5 separate regions of the Homo sapiens genome follow, and all the other regions are linked to region 4. Evidence: promoter capture Hi-C in 16 types of primary human blood cells and fetal thymus (Javierre and others, 2016). All regions are on one chromosome and are shown on one strand. Each heading gives the region's core, a stretch centred on a gene start or on the middle of the fragment in contact. The rest is flanking DNA. Distances are from core to core; before and after follow the strand shown. Region 1 overlaps UTP11 (UTP11 small subunit processome component). Region 2 overlaps MIR3659HG (MIR3659 host gene). Region 3 overlaps SF3A3 (splicing factor 3a subunit 3). Region 4 holds the start of RRAGC (Ras related GTP binding C). Region 5 overlaps INPP5B (inositol polyphosphate-5-phosphatase B).

Region 1 (3,168 bases), core at 333-2,832, 840 kb after region 4:
GACGCAGTGGCTCACGCCAGTAATCCCAGCACTTTGGGAGGCTGAGGAGGGAGGGTCACTTGAGCCCAGGAGTTCCAGACCAACGTAGGCAACATAATGAGACTCTGTCTCAAAAAAAAAAAATTAAAAATTAAAAAAGGAACCCTGTAGACTATCTTATCGAAACCCGTCATTTACAAACGCAGAAAAATGAGGCCCAGAGAAGAAGTGGTCCAAGGACACACAGCTCACCTGGAGCAGAGTCAGGACCGTCCCCCTCTCACAAATCCCAGGAATCTTTCCACTACTACACTAAGCTGCTTCAACCTTTGTGTGAGTGCCACAGTCACCTGAGATGATGGCAGGAATGAATCAGTGTTGGAAACCCTATACAAAGTGAATGGAGAGCAACAGAAGAGTCGGCAACAGAAGGGTCCCCAGGCAGTGTGCTGGTGCCTGAAAATCTTACCACTCAGAAAGCAGAAGAATTTTTTCAGCAGAAGCTCACCTGAGAATTCTCACTGCTAATGACTCCTCAAAGATCAGTGGGGTCCTTACATTTTGGGGAATCATCAACCTCAGAGAAACTGATGAAAGCTTTGGGATCTTTCTTCTTTTTTTTTTTTTTCTGAGGCGGAGTCTTGCTCTGTCGCCCAGGCTGGAGTGCAGTGGCACTATCTCGGCTCGCTACAACCTCCGCCTCCTGGGTTCAAGCAATTCTGCTGCCTCAGCCTCCCTAGTAGCTGGGATTACAGGTGCCCGCCACCACGCCTGGCTAATTTTTGTATTTTTAGTAGAGACAGGGTTTCACTACATTGGCCAGGCTAGTCTCGAACTCCTGACCTCAAGTGATCCACCTGCCTTGGCCTCCCAAATTGCTGGGACTACAGGCATGAGCCACCACGCCCAGCATGGGATGTTTCTTGAGATAAATGTACATACACATTTGTAAAAGGTTGTGCAAGCACATATACCTATCTGCACAAAATACCAGTGAGAAAGGGGGGTTTTCTCAGACCTCCTAAAGCTCACTCATGGGTTGTCTACCCACTCGAAGTTACAGACAAAATATCCTTGCAATCCACCCACCAGCAGTCTCTTAATAAAAATGATTTTGCAGTAAACAAAATAGAAAGAAACATAATTACTAGACAAAAATGGCAAAAATCTAAACCTCCCTAACTTCTCAAAAGCTATGCTGGTGAACTATTCTACATGGGAATTTGGAATACTAATCTCTTTAGGGACTACCACAATTCTTGAGAAGCGTCAGTGACACGGCTAATTGAAAGTACACCTAATTGCCGGGCGCGGTAGCTCACGCCTGTAATCCCTGCACTTTGGGAGGCTGAGGTGGGTGGATCACAAGGTCAGGAGTTCAAGACCAGCCTAGCCAAAATGGTGAAACCCTGTCTCTACTAAATATACAAAAAATTAGCCAGGCGTGGTGGCGGGCACCTGTAATCCCAGCTACTCGGGAGGCTGAGGCAAGAGAATTGCTTGAACCCAGGAGGCAGAGGTTGCAGTGAGCCGATATCACGCCACCGCACTCCAGCCTGGGTGACAGAGTGAGACTCCGTCTCAAAAAAAAAAAAAAGTACACCTAATTGACAAACAACAGGGTTATCACAAGAACACTCATGAGCAAGCTCTTTGGCTGGAAGTGTTATCTACAGAAGGAAATATTACTGGGCCTTAGACTTCAACAATTCACAGATTCTAGCACAGTCTCACAGCAGTGGTTTCAGACAGCTTTTGTTTTCGCTTTATTGCACAGACTGTCAGATTTATGGGATTACCCAATATAGTCAAACTAATTAGGGGTATTTATATTACTAAAGCAAGTTTAGCTGCCTCTGAGCTAGAGAAAACTGCTGTGAAATTAAACATTGGAAGCAAAACTGATGCAGTGTAAATGATTCAAATCAAAACAGAACAGCTGTCTGCTTGAAACACATTGACAGCATTTTTTTTTAATGAATCAGTCAGAAGAGTTCAACTCCAGAAGGCTTTCAGGAAAAGCATGTCTTCTGCACAACCCAGTTACAGTGACGGAAAGCACCATAAGGAAAAGCCAAAACAAAATTTTTGTTACAATACACAATATGAAAGACCTTTTGGGCAGGCATGGTGGCTCACGCCTGTAATCCCAACACTTCAGGAGGCCAAGGCGGGAGTAAACACTTGAGCTCAGGAGTTTAAGACCAGCCTGGGCAACTTAGCGAGACCCCGTTTCTACAAAAAAAATTTAAAATTAGCTAGGCATGGTGGCACACACCTGTGGTCCCAGCTACCCAGGAGGCTGAGGCAGGAGGATCGCTTAAGCCCAGAAGGTGGAGACTGCAGTGAGCCATAATCACACCATTGCACTCCAGCCTGGGTGACAGTGAGACCCTGTCTCAAGAAAAATAAAAACACAGAAAGACCTTTTGATGTGCGTATTCACTGCTAAAGGTTCAATATTAAAGTATTGCAAATCCTTTAATCTTCAGCAATCCCTTTCTCTGCATTTTCAAAACACTGGCATCTGTTACAAGTATTAAAAGCACAAAGCGCAGGGTCAGAATTGGGATTCAAACCCAGGTCTAAAGGCCAGAACCTAAGCTTCTGACCACTATACCTCCTCCGATCATAGAAATTAGGAAGCCCTTCTCCACTTCCATCCCATCATCAAATCATCCTACAAATCCACTTTTCTAAGGGAACTCATGAGTTTTCCATAAATAAATAATTATTTTAGGCCAGGCACAGTGGCTCACGCTTGTAATCCCGACACTTTGGGAGGCCAAGGCAGGCAGATCAACTGAGGTCAGGAGTTCAAGACCAGCCTGGCCAACATGGCGAAACCCCATCTCTATGAAAAATACAGAAATAAGCTGGGTGTGGTGTTGCACCCCTATAGTCCCAGTTACTGGGGAGGCTGAGGCATGAGAATTGCTTGAACCCAGGAGGCGGAGGTTGCAGTGAGCCGAGATCGTGCCACTGCACTCCAGCCTGGGAGACAGTGAGACTCTGACTAAAAAATAAAATAAAATAAATTTTAAAAATTATTTTAAATGCAGTAGCAAAAAAAAAAAAACAAAAAAAAAACACCTAGATTCCCCTAAGCTCACATGTGAAGAACAACAGAGAAAATTACCTTAAGTCCAGTCTGATTGGTAACTCCTTTCACTTTTTCTTTCTGCAAGG
Region 2 (3,255 bases), core at 508-3,007, 790 kb after region 4:
CTGGATGTTTGCTTTTAGGAGAAGAAGAAAAACTACAATTTCTGGTCCCTGTTAGGCAGTGCAGCTTAACAATGAAATCCTACAGAGGCATCGAGACCTGGGTTTGAATCCTAGCTCCACTATGTACTAGCTGTGGGATACTGGAAAGGTTACTCGCAGAGCCCCAGTTTCTTCATTTGTAAAACGAGGATAATGATAGTTTCAAACTTATAAATTGTTCAGAGAATTAAATGAGATAATTCATGCAAAGTGCTTAGCATGGTGCCCAGCACGGAATAAGTATTTCATAAATAAAGATGATCTTTCTTCAGTAAAAGTTTCCTTTGGAAAATGTCCAAGCCTCTAGGGGATTGCAGGCATCTGTCCATAGCAGAATTAGTATGAAAGTATTCAGGGGGTATCCCAGGCCGCTCCAACCTCCTGGTCCAGATGCTTTTGGGGCAAAATCTGAGCCATGTTCAGAGACCATGTTCAGGGACTGGGGCTGGGACTCAGTGTAAGGTCAGGTTTCAGGCTCAGTCTGGGCCCAAGTTCAAAGCTCTGCAACTAACTCATAACATAGCCTTGGGAAAGTCCCTTCCCAATGAGCCTCAGTTTCCTCATCTATAAAATGGGAACAACATCCTCATCCAGCTTGCCTCCCAGAGGCACCAGGCGAGTGCTGTTGAATCATGCATTTGCAGGCTCGCGCAAACCCCAGGGATCAGCCTCACTCTTCAGTGTTACTTATGTTCCTGTGGCCCTCAGACCTGCTGGATAAGAGATTCTTCTCCCTGTTTCCACAGGCCCACAATGGAGGCCATTCCTCAGGGTTAGAGCAGCCAGGCAGGGGACCCGATGGAGACACGGCAGGACACCCCAAGGCACTGCGGCCCCTCCCAGGAGCTGGGAACAGAAGGCTTGGAATTCACTACGCACATATTTGCTGACTTCTCTGCACTCTGCCTGCTTCAGGCATTCACTTCCCAGAAGTTTATTTGAGGAGATGCAGATGAGCCGGATTTGAGTTCCGCAGACCTGCCCAGACAAATGGCTGAGCCCTTTCTCACTCCCTCTCTCACACACTCTCCACCTCCCTTGCTTTTTCTTTGTCTGTCTGTCTCTCCTGGAAGACCTGCCCTTTGCTCTTGCTTTCTCCCCATGCTGTTTATTCTCCATTTGATCCCCTGGCCCAGATTCACACCCTGCCCTTCTCAGCCCTGAGCTGTGCCCCAGGAGACTGACCCCAGGGAACTGCCTGGCCTGGGTGCCCCTGGTTGGGTTCAGCTGGTGGGAGGCACCGGCAGAAGTTGGAGGGAAGGGGAAGAGGGAGGTCAGGGATTCCCTCCTCACTCCCTCCTTCCTGGGCAACATTTTTAGCAGTGGCTGTGTTTCTCCATGACTACGGCTTGCACCAGGCATTCCCTCCTCCACAACACCATTCCCTCCCCTCGTCTCATCAGCCCTTGAGGTGGTAAGGGCTTCTGACTGTTGCTAGTCCCTGGAGCCCCACCTCTCTTGCTGCTTCCTAAAATCTTCACCCAGGCCTTTGTAGGTAGCCCATTCATCACAGTCGCTGCATAGAAACCATTAGGAGTAGATTCTGTTTGCTGCCAGGCCCCTAACCAAACACTCCTCAAATCCACCACACACTTCACTAGTCCTGTATCACTCGCCTCTCTCTTGATACAAGCTCTCCTGAGCTCAGGGTGGGAAACATTCAGAATGTTTCTGTCATAGCCCTTAGTGGAGACCACCCAAGGGTGCTGAGGGCTGGGGGTAAGGGGTCCCTGCTGTTACACCCACACACACAGAACCAAGGGCCCCTCTCATCTTCTACCCAGGTCAGGGAGACTAGGGACAGCATGAAACTTAGAAAAGCTGGCTTAGAGCACCCCCTTTATCACAAACCAGCCAAAGCATTTAATAACCTCCATTTCTGCCAGTGTAACATAAAGAAATGCAGACCTCTCCCTGAGCGGTTAGGGGATCTACCTGGTGGGCTGATGGACATGTGTGTGGTTTGTGAACTGTAACCATGAGACGGGTGTGGAAAAATATTACTGAGTTCTCACAAGAGGCCAGCAGGACTCCTCCCCTCTCCAAGCTGTAAGGCAGGTGGGGGAAAGGATGACAGGCTTATGGGACAGTCAACATCTGAGGACCATGGCTGCTCCCTGCTCACAGGTGAGGAGGAGCTACTGCTTTTGACTAGTGATGCTGGGGTTGAGGTCTGGAATGGGGGCTAAGGTGGAAGTTGGATCTGTATTTAAGTTGTGGCTGAGATAGAAGCTGATTTTGAAATGGAAATAGGGGTGGGGCTATAGCTGAGGTGAAGGCTGTGATTAGGTTGGAGCTGAGGTGGGGTCAGGTGTTGAGTTTGGACTTGAGGCTGAGATCAGAGTTGGAAATGGATTAGGAGTTGAGGCTAAGTTTGGAGTTTGAGTTGGGTCAAGGGCTAAAATTTGATGTTGAGGTGAAAGCTAAGATTGGCACTGAGTTGGGGCCTGGACATGAGGTTCCAGAATCCTCCCTACCCACTCAGACCTCCACTGGGCTTTGGGAATGTAACTGACCTGCACAGAGGAGGTGTGGCCATATTGACATCTCCTCCTTCTCCTCCCTGGTGTGACTACATTCATTCATTCATTATTCCATCCAGTCACTCGATAAAAAATTTATCCATCACCTTTATGTGCTGTATACTATACTAGATCCTGGAAATACACGGGCGAATCAAGCAGGTGTAGCCGCTACCCTCACGGAGCTTATGGTTTAGAAAAGAAGAAAAACAAGAACTCAATAGTCCTGGAACTAGATGCATAGCTATGAGTGTGCAAAAGCCCAAGGAGCCATGTATCAGAAAGCACAGCAGGTAGAGAGTCATGGAAGGCCACTGGGTGTGAGCAAAGCCTCCTAAGTGGTTCAAAGTCAGTACAGGAAACAGACAACAGAGGGGTTGACTCTAGCTAGTAACCAAGGAATGCTTGTGGAAGGGGTGGCACTGTGCTAAGTTCTCTACAGTCTCTTCTAACTATGACACTAGGAGGCAGTAGATGCAGTAGGAGCCAGATAAACCTAAGCTCAAAGCCAGACTGTGTCAGATACAAACCAGCTGAGCTGTGTAACTTCAGGCAAATGACCTCCCTTCTTCCAGCCTCAGTTCCATTCTTTAAGATGGTGATAGTAATTCCTAGTTTGTGGGGCTGGTGTGAGGATTCAGGATGATGTTTATAAAGTTCCTGGCACTCGTTAGGTGCTCAGTTAATGATAGTT
Region 3 (3,291 bases), core at 515-3,014, 890 kb after region 4:
GCAAGCCAGGACAGGAGAAGAGCGAGAAGAAGAGGAAGAAGAGCAGATCAGTGAGAGTGAGAGTGAAGATGAAGAGAACGAGATCATTTACAACCCCAAAAACCTGCCACTTGGCTGGGATGGCAAAGTAAGTCTCAGCACTACCACTTTCTCCCCATTCCCCATTTTGGAAACAGATACAGAGTTTAGTAGGCTAACACTTCTTGGTTTTGTTTTGTTTTTTTCTTTTTTAGCCTATTCCCTACTGGCTGTATAAGCTTCATGGCCTAAATATCAACTACAACTGTGAGATTTGTGGAAACTACACCTACCGAGGGCCCAAAGCCTTCCAGCGACACTTTGCTGTAAGGAATTCAGAGCCATTTTTCCTGGGAATTGAAGTAAAAACATGAGACTTTTAGAGAAAAGAGTAGGAGCAGCCTATGTGGACCACTGGTGTCCAGAGCTGAAGGGAATCAGAGAAGGATGGTTTTAAAATCAAGCCCATGGCATTTGACTTTTGGCACCAATGTTAGTCTTAAATACCTGAGATAGTTTCTGGAGGAATTCTACCGCACCACTCTTTGAACCTTATTTGGTTTTCTCTTGCCTGCTCTTAAACTTCTCTGTTTTTGTCTTTCTGCTAGCATTTTAGACCAATTTCTGACTTCTTGGTTATTTCTCTACCCCATTGCTAATACTCAAGATAAAAAATAGGGCTGACTGATCTCTTTCAGATCTTAAATGGATCTTTGCCTCTTGAGAAAATAAAAAATGAAGGGGCTGATATTTATCAAGCCATTCTTGAGACAGGGTATTGTCCGGATGATACTGCTGTAAGTGGGCTCACCTCTAAGTGGGCTCTACTTAGAGTTCTTAGATTTTGGAAGGAAATTTTACAGAAAGGAAAACATTTATGCTAGACCAAGGATGACAAATTTATATGAACTCCTCTCCCCCTCTCTGAGTCATACATATTACTAATTGATAATGGGTCTTTTTTGCTGAGCCCATGAGTGAGTTCTGAATCCTTCTCAGCACCTCCTACAATGATTGGAGTTGGCATCCAGGATAAAGCCCATGCCATTTACCATCCCTTAGTTAAAACTGCCATCATGTCAGTGTATAATCTCCCTGCTCTCTCCTCACCACATCATTGTGCCTAATAAAAGTCTTCTCCTTTACCTACAAAGATGATGCTGACCTGCCATTAGTAACCCCTATTCATGCAGGTGTTTGGAGTTGCTGGGGCTTTGGTAAGTTCTCCTGCAATATGGGAGATGTAGTGAGAGTTGTGATGTTTTTCTGTGATCTTGACCCAGAGGTTTTATGTATAAGACTACTGGGTCTAGAATCTAGGTTTACAAGCCAACCCAGTGAGGCAAACAATGCAGTGCTGCTTTGAAATACCACCCTTTTGTCAGTCACAGCCAGCTGTTTACAAACATGAATCACAAAAGGAATGCTACCTTTAGGTGGAGTCTTGCAAAGGGCCATGTTAGGATTTATGAGTAGAATGGAGTTAGTGCTCTGTGTTCAGCTATTCCCATTTCACATGATCCTTTTGCTTCTCTCTTCTCCCAGGAATGGCGTCATGCTCATGGCATGAGGTGTTTGGGCATCCCAAACACTGCTCACTTTGCTAATGTGACACAGATTGAAGATGCTGTCTCCTGTAAGTAAGATTTATTTACTGTCTCCTAGGCGAGTACAAATGGCTCTACTCCTTCAATTCAGCATCCTAATACCCTGTGTATCCAGGGTTAAAGGCAGTAGGTTGTGGATATGTAAAATCTAGGACAGTTGTATAATTATTGCATTTCTGTTTTTTGTTTTGTGTTTTTTTGTTTTGTTTTGAGATGGATGGAGTCTCGCTCTGTCGCCAGGCTGGAGTGTAATGGTGCAGTCTTGGCCCACTGCAACCTCTGCCTCCCGGGCGCAAGCGATTCTCCTGCCTCAGCCTACCGAGTAGCTGGGACTACAGGCACGTGCCACCACACCTGGCTAATTTTTTTTTTTTTTTTTTTTTTTTTTTTTTTTTGTGACGGAGTCTCACTCTGTCGCCCAGGTTGGAGTGCAGTGGCATGATCTCGGCTCACTGCAAGTTCCACCTCCTGGGTTCATGCCATTCTCCTGCCTCAGCCTCCCGGTAGCTGGGACTACAGGCGCCCGCCACCACACTTGGCTAATTTTTTGTGTTTTTAGTAGAGACAGGGTTTCACAGTGTTAGCCAGGATGGTCTTGATCTCCTGACCTCATGATCCGCCCGCCTTGGCCTCCCAAAGTGCTGGGATTACAGGCATGAGCCGCCACACCTGGCTAATTTTTTGTATTTTTAGTAGAGACGGGGTTTCACTGTGTGAGCCAGGATGGCCTTGAACTCCCGACCTCAGGTGATCCGCCCACTTCAGCCTCCCAAAGTGCTGGGATTATAGGCGTGAGCCACCATGCCCAGCCTTTGTTTCTGAGACGAGTCTCACTCTGTCACCAGGCTGGAGTGCAGTGGCACGATCTTGGCTCCTGCAACCTCCGTCTCCTGGGCTCAAGCAATTCTCCTGCCTCAGCCTCCCTAGTACCTGGGATTACAGGCATGTGCCACCATGCCCAGCTAATTTTTCTATTTTTAGTAGAGATGGGCTTTCATCATGTTGGCCAGGCTGGTTGAGGTGACGAACTCCTGACCTCAAGTGATCCACCCATGTTGGCCTCCCAAAGTGCTGGGATAACAGGCGTGAGCCACCGCGCCTAATTATTGCATTTTTTTTTTTTTTTTTTTTTTTTTTGAGATGGAGTTTCGCTCATATTGCCCAGGCTGGAGTGCAATGGTGCGATCTCGGCTCACTGCAACCTGTGCCTCCTGGGTTCAAGCGATTCTCCTGCCTCAGCCTCCCGAGTAGCTGGGATTACAAGTATGCGCCACCATGCCTGGCTAATTTTGTACTTTTAGTAGAGACGGGTTTCTCCATGTTGGTCAGGCTGGTCTTGAACTCCTGACCTCAGGTGATCTGCCCACCTCGGCCTCCCAAAGTGCTGCGATTACAGGCGTGATCCACCGTGCCCAGCTAATTATTGCATTTTTAAGAGAAATGAATTAGTCGGCAATACTGATTGTTTCTCCTTTGAGAAGAGCTCTGTGCTGAGTATAAACCAGGGCTTTTAGCCTGGGTCTGTGAACTCCCTTTTATGCAAGATTTTGATTGAATGGTTGTATGGATAGTTTTCTGAATTGATTTTAATGTGTTAAATAATGACTGATATAAAGGAAAATATAGAAGTACCCTCAGTAAGCTTGTGTTAGAGGCTATAGAAACA
Region 4 (3,443 bases), core at 653-3,152:
TTCCTCAGTTACACTAGCAACAATTCAAGTGCTTATTCCTCATAGGACTAGCGGCTACATGTTTGACAGTGCAGATAAAGAACATGTCTATCATGTATATCAGTTGTATTGAACAGCACGATAGGAATGGTTGAAACTGAGGATGTTCAGCAAGGAACAGAGAAGACTTAGTGGGTAATGAATACTGCAATCTGGTATTTGAAGGGCTGTCATGAAAAAGGTGAAGACTATTCCTATTTTATTCTATTATAGGCTTCAGGGAGTGTGGTTTGGCTTTAAGACTTTTTTTTTTTTTTGAGACGGAGTCTCGCTCTGTCGCCAAGGCTGGAGTGCGGTGGCGCGATCTCGGCTCACTGCAAGCTCCGCCTCCTGGGTTCAAGCCATTCTCCTGCCTCAGCCTCCCGAGTAGCTGGGACTACAGGCGCCCGCCACCACGCCCGGCTAATTTTTTGTATTTTTTTAAGTAGAGATGGGGTTTCACCATGTTAGCCAGGATGGTCTCGATCTCCTGACCTCATGATCCGCCCGCCTCTGCCTCCCAAAGTGCTGGGATTACAAGCGTGAGCCACCGCGCGGCCGGCTTTAACAATTTTTAAACAAAGGTTTACCACAGTGGAGTTGGCTGCCTTTCGAGATGGTGAGCTCTTTTACCTTCGAACTATTTAAGTGCATTCTGCATGTCTATTAGACACTATAGAGTTGGTTCGTTTTAGGTGAGAGGTTGGGCTAGATGACCTCTAAGGGTGTATCCTACCTCTAACTTCTGGGTTCAGACAAAACCAAAGTCCCAGACCTGCCCGCATGTGCGAATTTTTCCTTCATAATCAAGAAGTCAGTCTCCTTGGAGGGCTGGGAGCACCCCCACTCCTGTACTTTAAAAAGTGTATAGGGCTGTGCTTTAAGAGGATCCTCTTCTCAAACTTCCAGTTCTAGAGCCTGATTATCAAAAATAAAAATTCCTCTAGATTTCTCGGACATATTTGGTGACAAGCATTTGCTTTTGTTTGCTTTCATTATTCAATACTTTGGTCTCTAATCTGAACGAGGTCATAGAAGAGGCAGTGTTCTATGGGGGATGGAATTCCTAGAGTAGACTTTGACAAGGCGGGAAGGAGGGCAAATTGAGTCCCGTTGGGTTTGAAGTGGCAGCAGTATCCACTATCGGCGACTTACTGAAGAAAGAAGATAAGATGTTCTAGCTTGGCTGCATCTGCTTTCCCATCAGGGTCCAGCTACCTGCTAGAACAAACTATCACGGTGACCCATGACTCTGCCTTGGTTGAGGTTTGCCCTCAGTGTGGCTGGCTCCCCCATACCTTTGCACATCCCAATCTATCCATCCACCTAGATCTGCTCAGACGCTTTCTCATTCAACTCCCGAGCATTATTTATCCGTGACCTTCCCACATAATATTTCGTAGCGAGGTTACTTACGCAGAGGTCCGATCTCTCTGTTCATCTTCAAGCAACCTGAAGGCAGGCAGGGTCTGCGTCGGATCCAGTTCTGTGCCCCTTGGTAGGCACCCAGGACACTGCAGGCATCAATAAATATCGGTTGGGCAAGTACAGTTGCAGGATGAGGACAATCAATTCTTCCTCAAATGCCGGGAGAGCATCTCCATAGCGGTGCTCTGGGAGCCCGGAAGAAGGCAGGGGAGCGGTGCAGACAGCGTTGTATGCGGGCCGGGGCGGAGGGCTGAGGGCCCGAGCCGGGGCTAGAGGCGCGGCCGGGCCGCCCTCCTCGTGACTCCTCCTCCCCCCTCCGCGGCTCTGAGTCAGGTGATTCCGGCACGTGACGGGGCACCACCTACCCTGCTGCTCTCGAGTAGCAGCTCGGGCGGCCAATAAGCGGCTGGGCTTCGGCTCGGGGCCTATGAGAGCCGGGCTCCGGGGGGCGGGCCGGACTGTGGCGGCTGCCGGGGGCGGTGGCGGTGGTGGCGGCGGCGGCGGAGGCGGACTGGGGAGGCGGCGGCCTGGCTCGGCCTGGCCTGGCCTGTCAGGGCGCGGGCGGCGGCGGCTCCAGCACCATGTCCCTGCAGTACGGGGCGGAGGAGACGCCCCTCGCCGGCAGTTACGGCGCGGCCGATTCGTTTCCAAAGGACTTCGGCTACGGCGTGGAGGAGGAGGAAGAGGAGGCGGCGGCGGCGGGCGGAGGGGTTGGGGCAGGGGCAGGCGGTGGCTGTGGTCCGGGGGGCGCTGACAGCTCCAAGCCGAGGATTCTGCTCATGGGACTCCGGCGCAGCGGCAAGTCCTCCATCCAGAAGGTGAGCAGGGCTGCGCCCAGTCCCCCGCCCCCTCCCCGGTTCTCAGGTGGCCGGTAGCGGGGACGCCCGGGAGGGCGGCGGCCGGGGCCCGCCTGCGCTCCGTCCCTCCGCACTTTCTCTTCCACTCTTGCGAGCGCACAGGCGCGGCCCGCGCGGGGACCCCGACCTCTGTGTCCACGCCCAAGTCAGCTGAAGCCAAGTGGAGCGCTGAAGGCGAAACTGGTTGCCGGGAGGCAGGTGCCCGGTGGCACCGCCCAAGACCTCCGCCCCCTGGGACCCAGCTCCTGTGTCATTTACGAAACTGAGACGTACTCTCCAGTTCTCACTTGGAGAACTTCGTGGACTCCCTCCCCTGGCCCGTTTTGATTTGTTCTCACTTCAGGTGACCTGAGTGTTTCGGGATTCCCAGCAGAGCCCCAGGGAGCAGCGTCAGGAAGAGTTGTGACTAAGACACTGGGCGTTGTAATTCTCGCTACTGATGTGAAGGAGACTTCGCTGTAGCATTACTGGGAATTGGGTAGTGAGATTGCACCCATTTCAGTAGTTGTGGCCTGGTGAATGTAATTACTGGTGCTGTTCCCCCTGTAGGGGTGTGTTTTTAAAAATCTGAGACTTTGAGAATATTTTGCAGACCTAGTCTGTTTGTTTTCACTTTTGGGCCTTCATGAACAAATGGAGGGCTGTACACGTTTGTTTGTTTATGTTTTTGAGACGGAGTCTCTCGCTCTGTCGCCCAGGCTGGAGAATGCAGTGGTGCAATCTCGGCTCACTGCAACCTCCACCTCCCTGGTTCAAGTAATTCTCCCGCCTCAGCCTCCCGAATAGCTGGGATTACAGGCGCGCGCCACCACGCCCGGCTAATTATTGTATTTTTAGTAGAGACGGGGTTTCACCATGTTGGCCAGGGTCATCTCGAACTGCTGACCTCAAGTGATCATCCGCCTTGGCCTCCCAAAGTGCTGGGATTACAGGTGTGAGTCACCACGCTGGCCTACACTGTTTAGTGAGGGTTAAATAGAGGCAAGGTTGACTTCCTCCATCAGCCAAACCCATTATACGCGGAGTGAGCTGGTAATAAAACTAGTATCAGCAGGCACCTGGTCTTTTCACCTCTCCACTCTGTTGCAAAGGCCTATCCAAAATAAATCTGTGATTTTTTTTTCTTTCTGAATCTGTGAT
Region 5 (3,368 bases), core at 774-3,273, 970 kb after region 4:
TCCATGCAGAAGTTTGGACTGCGAGATACAATTGTGAAATCACATCTACTACAGAAAGAAGAGGATTACACCTATATCCAGAACTTCAGGTAGCTAACTGGGTTCTAGGATGTTTTCAGAGCAGAATGATCATTTGGCACTCTGGAATTTGAGCACTTCCTCCTATACCTGGATTTGGAGACATACTCTTCTATAGAATCTCTCCCCTCATTTTCAAAATGAGTGATTCCATGCATTCTTTATTAACAGGCATTTATTCTGTGCCCTTTCTAGGTGGGCACGGTGATAGGTGTGGTATAGTGGGAGTGACACGACTTGCAGATAGTTACAGAAATATTTGTGGAGACAAATGGGTACAGAAGAAGGAGCGCCATCCTGATTCTTTTATTTATTTATGTTTTATCTTTTTGAGACAAGGTCTCGCTTTGTTGCCCAGGCTGGAGTGCAGTGGTGCAGTCACAGCTCACTGTACCCTCAGCCTCCTGGGCCCAAGTAACCCTCCCACCTCAGCTGCTGGAGTAGCTGGTAATACACATGTGCTGATTTTTAAATTTTTGTAGAGACAGGGTCGCACTGTGTTGCCCACATGGGTCTCAAGCTCCTGGGCTTGGGCAATCCTCCCGCCTTGGCCTCCCAAATTGTTGAGATTATAAGTGTGAACCACCACACCTGGCCTCTTGATTCTTATGTATCCCTCCAAGGTTTTATACTCCCTTGGCATTCTGGGCCTTTGAAGAAAGTCATTTAAAATGAAATTACTAAAATGAAGTTAGCTGGTGTTTGGTAATCTTTTTAGGCAAGATTACTAAAAGCTAAATTAATAAAGGTTGTGGGATTCTGCTAGATCTTTCAAAATCGTTGCATTGGGACTATAAGATAAAATAACATTGTTTCTAGGGATACAAACTGTGAATTATGGTGAAGAAATAGCCTTTTGAATACTGGTGTTGCTTTCTTGCCAAAAGTAATTACCAAAGCACTTTTCATTTTTTCATTTCAGTAGTATATACAAGGCAAATAATTATGCAGATAATGCCTGGGTAATGGCTGTTTAAAGGAAGTGGGAATGTTCGGAGTAGGCCTATACTATTTGAAGTTGTTATCACAAAAGTAACAGATACCATGACAGACCGCAAGTCACTCCTTGGTGCTGCAGTCCTGGTCTAGGTTAGAAATGACATTTCTTATGTCTCAAAATGCCAGTCCACAGAGACGGAAACCAGCATAAATCAGCATAAAATGCTTTCTCCTGTTATCTCCATAGTGATTCGGAGTCACTAATTATTTCTCTTTGGTGACAGGTTTTTTGCGGGAACATACAATGTAAATGGGCAGTCCCCCAAAGAATGCCTCCGGCTGTGGCTGAGCAATGGTATCCAGGCCCCAGATGTCTATTGTGTAGGGTGAGTGCTTCTCTTCTAGTCCCCTCTCCATCTTCAAGCACACAGAGCTGTGGTTGAAGGATGGGTCTTCACAACAGGTGAAGGATTTGAAAAATGAACAGATGCCTGATAACAGCTGTTTCCCTGTTTGATGTTCTTCCTCATGGCAAGCAAATGTCTGCCACTATTAAAGTGGGGTGCTTGGCATTTAAGTGCTAGTATTTAATTTTTAGTGTAATCTTCTGTTAAAATCCTGAATTGCATCCTGAACTCAGTGCATCCTGAACTGAACTTTATTGCTTGGACATTCAATACATTTTTGGTTACAAAGCAAAACTATCTTCTGCCAGAGAAGAAAGGTTAGCTGAAGAAAGTCCCATCAGTTAGTCTTTTTTTTTTTTAATCTTCTCATCTCTATACTGGGCATTACTAGTGGGGAGGGGCAGCAAAGCTTGTATGGTATATTGAAAAGAACTAGAATTCATAATTTATGTAGACCAAGGTTTGAATCCCAGTTTGCCACTTGGTGCTTGTGTGAACTAGGGGTTACAGATGTAAAATAGGGACACTTCGAACTACTTCATAGGCTGGTCATGAAAAGAAAATGGGTTTTTGTTTGCAACAGCACCTGCAAAGTTCCTTGGCATTTAGTTCCTTGGCTCTAAATGTTTATTTTTTCCTCCTGAGGGTCCTGAAGTTTAGCTAGAAAGCTAGGGCTTATGCACCTAAACCAATCTGAGAATGTGTCATTTGCACATTACTTTTCTTTACTATCTAACTGGTTGCTTCTCAAAATAGGTTCCAGGAGCTTGATCTGAGTAAGGAAGCTTTTTTCTTTCACGATACCCCAAAGGAGGAAGAGTGGTTCAAAGCTGTGTCAGAGGGTCTTCATCCAGATGCCAAATATGCAAAGGTAAGAGAGGAGTCAGGGACCTCTTAATTTTATGTTGCCATGCAGGGAAATTCCAAGATCATTTTTCACCTTTTCCATGACCTTTATCTTAAGCCAGTCTTAATTATCCCGCAATTTTCATTTCCAGATCTTCCAGAAGGGGTGCCTCCGGGTGGGAAAGATGCAGGGTCTCGCCACTCGTAGGTTAGCACATAGCATGCTTGGTGAATTGAACAGATGATTACCTGTGTTCTAGTGTGGAGAAGGAGACACGTGAATACTCTCAGCCAGCTTCCAGACTATGTTTCCTTTGGGGTATTTATTCCTGTTTGCAATTTCTATTTAATGCCATGTCTCTCTTTTCCAGGTGAAGCTTATCCGACTGGTTGGGATTATGCTGCTGTTATATGTCAAACAGGAGCATGCAGCTTATATCTCAGAAGTGGAAGCCGAGACTGTGGGGACAGGAATCATGGGGAGGATGGTGAGTCCTTGGTTGGTTTGTTTGGCACATTGAGGACCTTAGCTCCTGAGGTATTGACCACTTCTGATGACACAGTGACTACACGTGTCCCAGTTTGAAGGTGCCAATATTCCAAGATGAATCATACCCTCAAGCAGGGCTCAGTCGAGCAAACTATTTAGAAACTGTTTTAGTGAACTACCTGCTGATTTAACCAATTAGCGCCTGTCCTCATATTCCCCAACACTAGAGCCTCCAGTTGATCCTCCCATTTCACCCATGAAGTATGTTGCAGAAACTATGCTGGGTCATTCAGAAAAACAAAGAATGCTGACAGTAGGTTTGCAATTTCCTCTTCTTATTGAGGCCATTAAAGTTCTGTTTTTAGGTTCTTCTGTGAGAGCTTAGCTTTGTGTTTTCAAAGGGTACCTATGGTTTGCCTGTGATTTAGTGAAAAGAACACTGGATTAAGGGAGCTAGGTTTTGGGGCTGGGTGTGGTGGCTCACACCTGTAATCCCAGCACTTTGGGAGGCTGAGGTGGGTGGATCACTTGAGGCCAGGAGTTCGAGAGAGTTAGGTTGTGGATTCAGCTTTGCCATTGACTGGCTAGTCATTCTGCCTTCTTTTTTT

What was found. Contacts are between HindIII fragments. The CHiCAGO score rates a contact against its expected background, and 5 or more counts as called.
Region 1: a contact is called between a fragment that was not itself captured here and the fragment with the promoter of RRAGC in region 4, in 5 of 17 cell types (M1 macrophages, erythroblasts, monocytes and 2 more). The highest score is 6.8, in M1 macrophages.
Region 2: a fragment that was not itself captured here is called in contact with the fragment with the promoter of RRAGC in region 4 in 1 of 17 cell types (M0 macrophages); the score reaches 5.7 in M0 macrophages.
Region 3: a contact is called between a fragment that was not itself captured here and the fragment with the promoter of RRAGC in region 4, in 1 of 17 cell types (endothelial precursors). The highest score is 5.4, in endothelial precursors.
Region 5: a contact is called between a fragment that was not itself captured here and the fragment with the promoter of RRAGC in region 4, in 1 of 17 cell types (erythroblasts). The highest score is 5.9, in erythroblasts.

What each region holds. Positions count from the first base shown.
Region 1 is chr1:38,019,334-38,022,501 of GRCh38, reverse strand. UTP11 (UTP11 small subunit processome component) reads right to left here. Exons shown (of 8, transcript NM_016037.4): 6 at 3,119-3,168. Among named protein-coding and RNA genes, the nearest start is that of UTP11, 8.2 kb to the right of the region's middle. The HindIII fragment of the contact is 2,007 bases long and covers 579-2,585 here.
Region 2 is chr1:38,071,827-38,075,081 of GRCh38, reverse strand. All of the region lies in intron 1 of MIR3659HG (MIR3659 host gene), which reads right to left. Among named protein-coding and RNA genes, the nearest start is that of MIR3659, 16 kb to the left of the region's middle. RefSeq lists an enhancer at 3,246-3,255. The HindIII fragment of the contact is 5,724 bases long and covers 1-3,255 here.
Region 3 is chr1:37,966,407-37,969,697 of GRCh38, reverse strand. It overlaps SF3A3 (splicing factor 3a subunit 3), which reads left to right. Exons shown (of 17, transcript NM_006802.4): 13 at 1-127; 14 at 234-344; 15 at 1,564-1,654. Among named protein-coding and RNA genes, the nearest start is that of INPP5B, 21 kb to the right of the region's middle. The HindIII fragment of the contact is 3,010 bases long and covers 260-3,269 here.
Region 4 is chr1:38,858,231-38,861,673 of GRCh38, reverse strand. RRAGC (Ras related GTP binding C) reads left to right here and starts at 1,902. Exons shown (of 7, transcript NM_022157.4): 1 at 1,902-2,264. The coding sequence starts at 2,028. RRAGC-DT (RRAGC divergent transcript) reads right to left here and starts at 1,781. Exons shown (of 2, transcript NR_186075.1): 1 at 1,435-1,781. RefSeq lists an enhancer at 1,683-1,977 and a silencer at 1,613-2,372. The HindIII fragment of the contact is 4,947 bases long and covers 1-3,443 here.
Region 5 is chr1:37,886,278-37,889,645 of GRCh38, reverse strand. INPP5B (inositol polyphosphate-5-phosphatase B) reads left to right here. Exons shown (of 24, transcript NM_005540.3): 9 at 1-89; 10 at 1,302-1,403; 11 at 2,181-2,295; 12 at 2,642-2,758. Among named protein-coding and RNA genes, the nearest start is that of MTF1, 28 kb to the right of the region's middle. The HindIII fragment of the contact is 376 bases long and covers 1,836-2,211 here.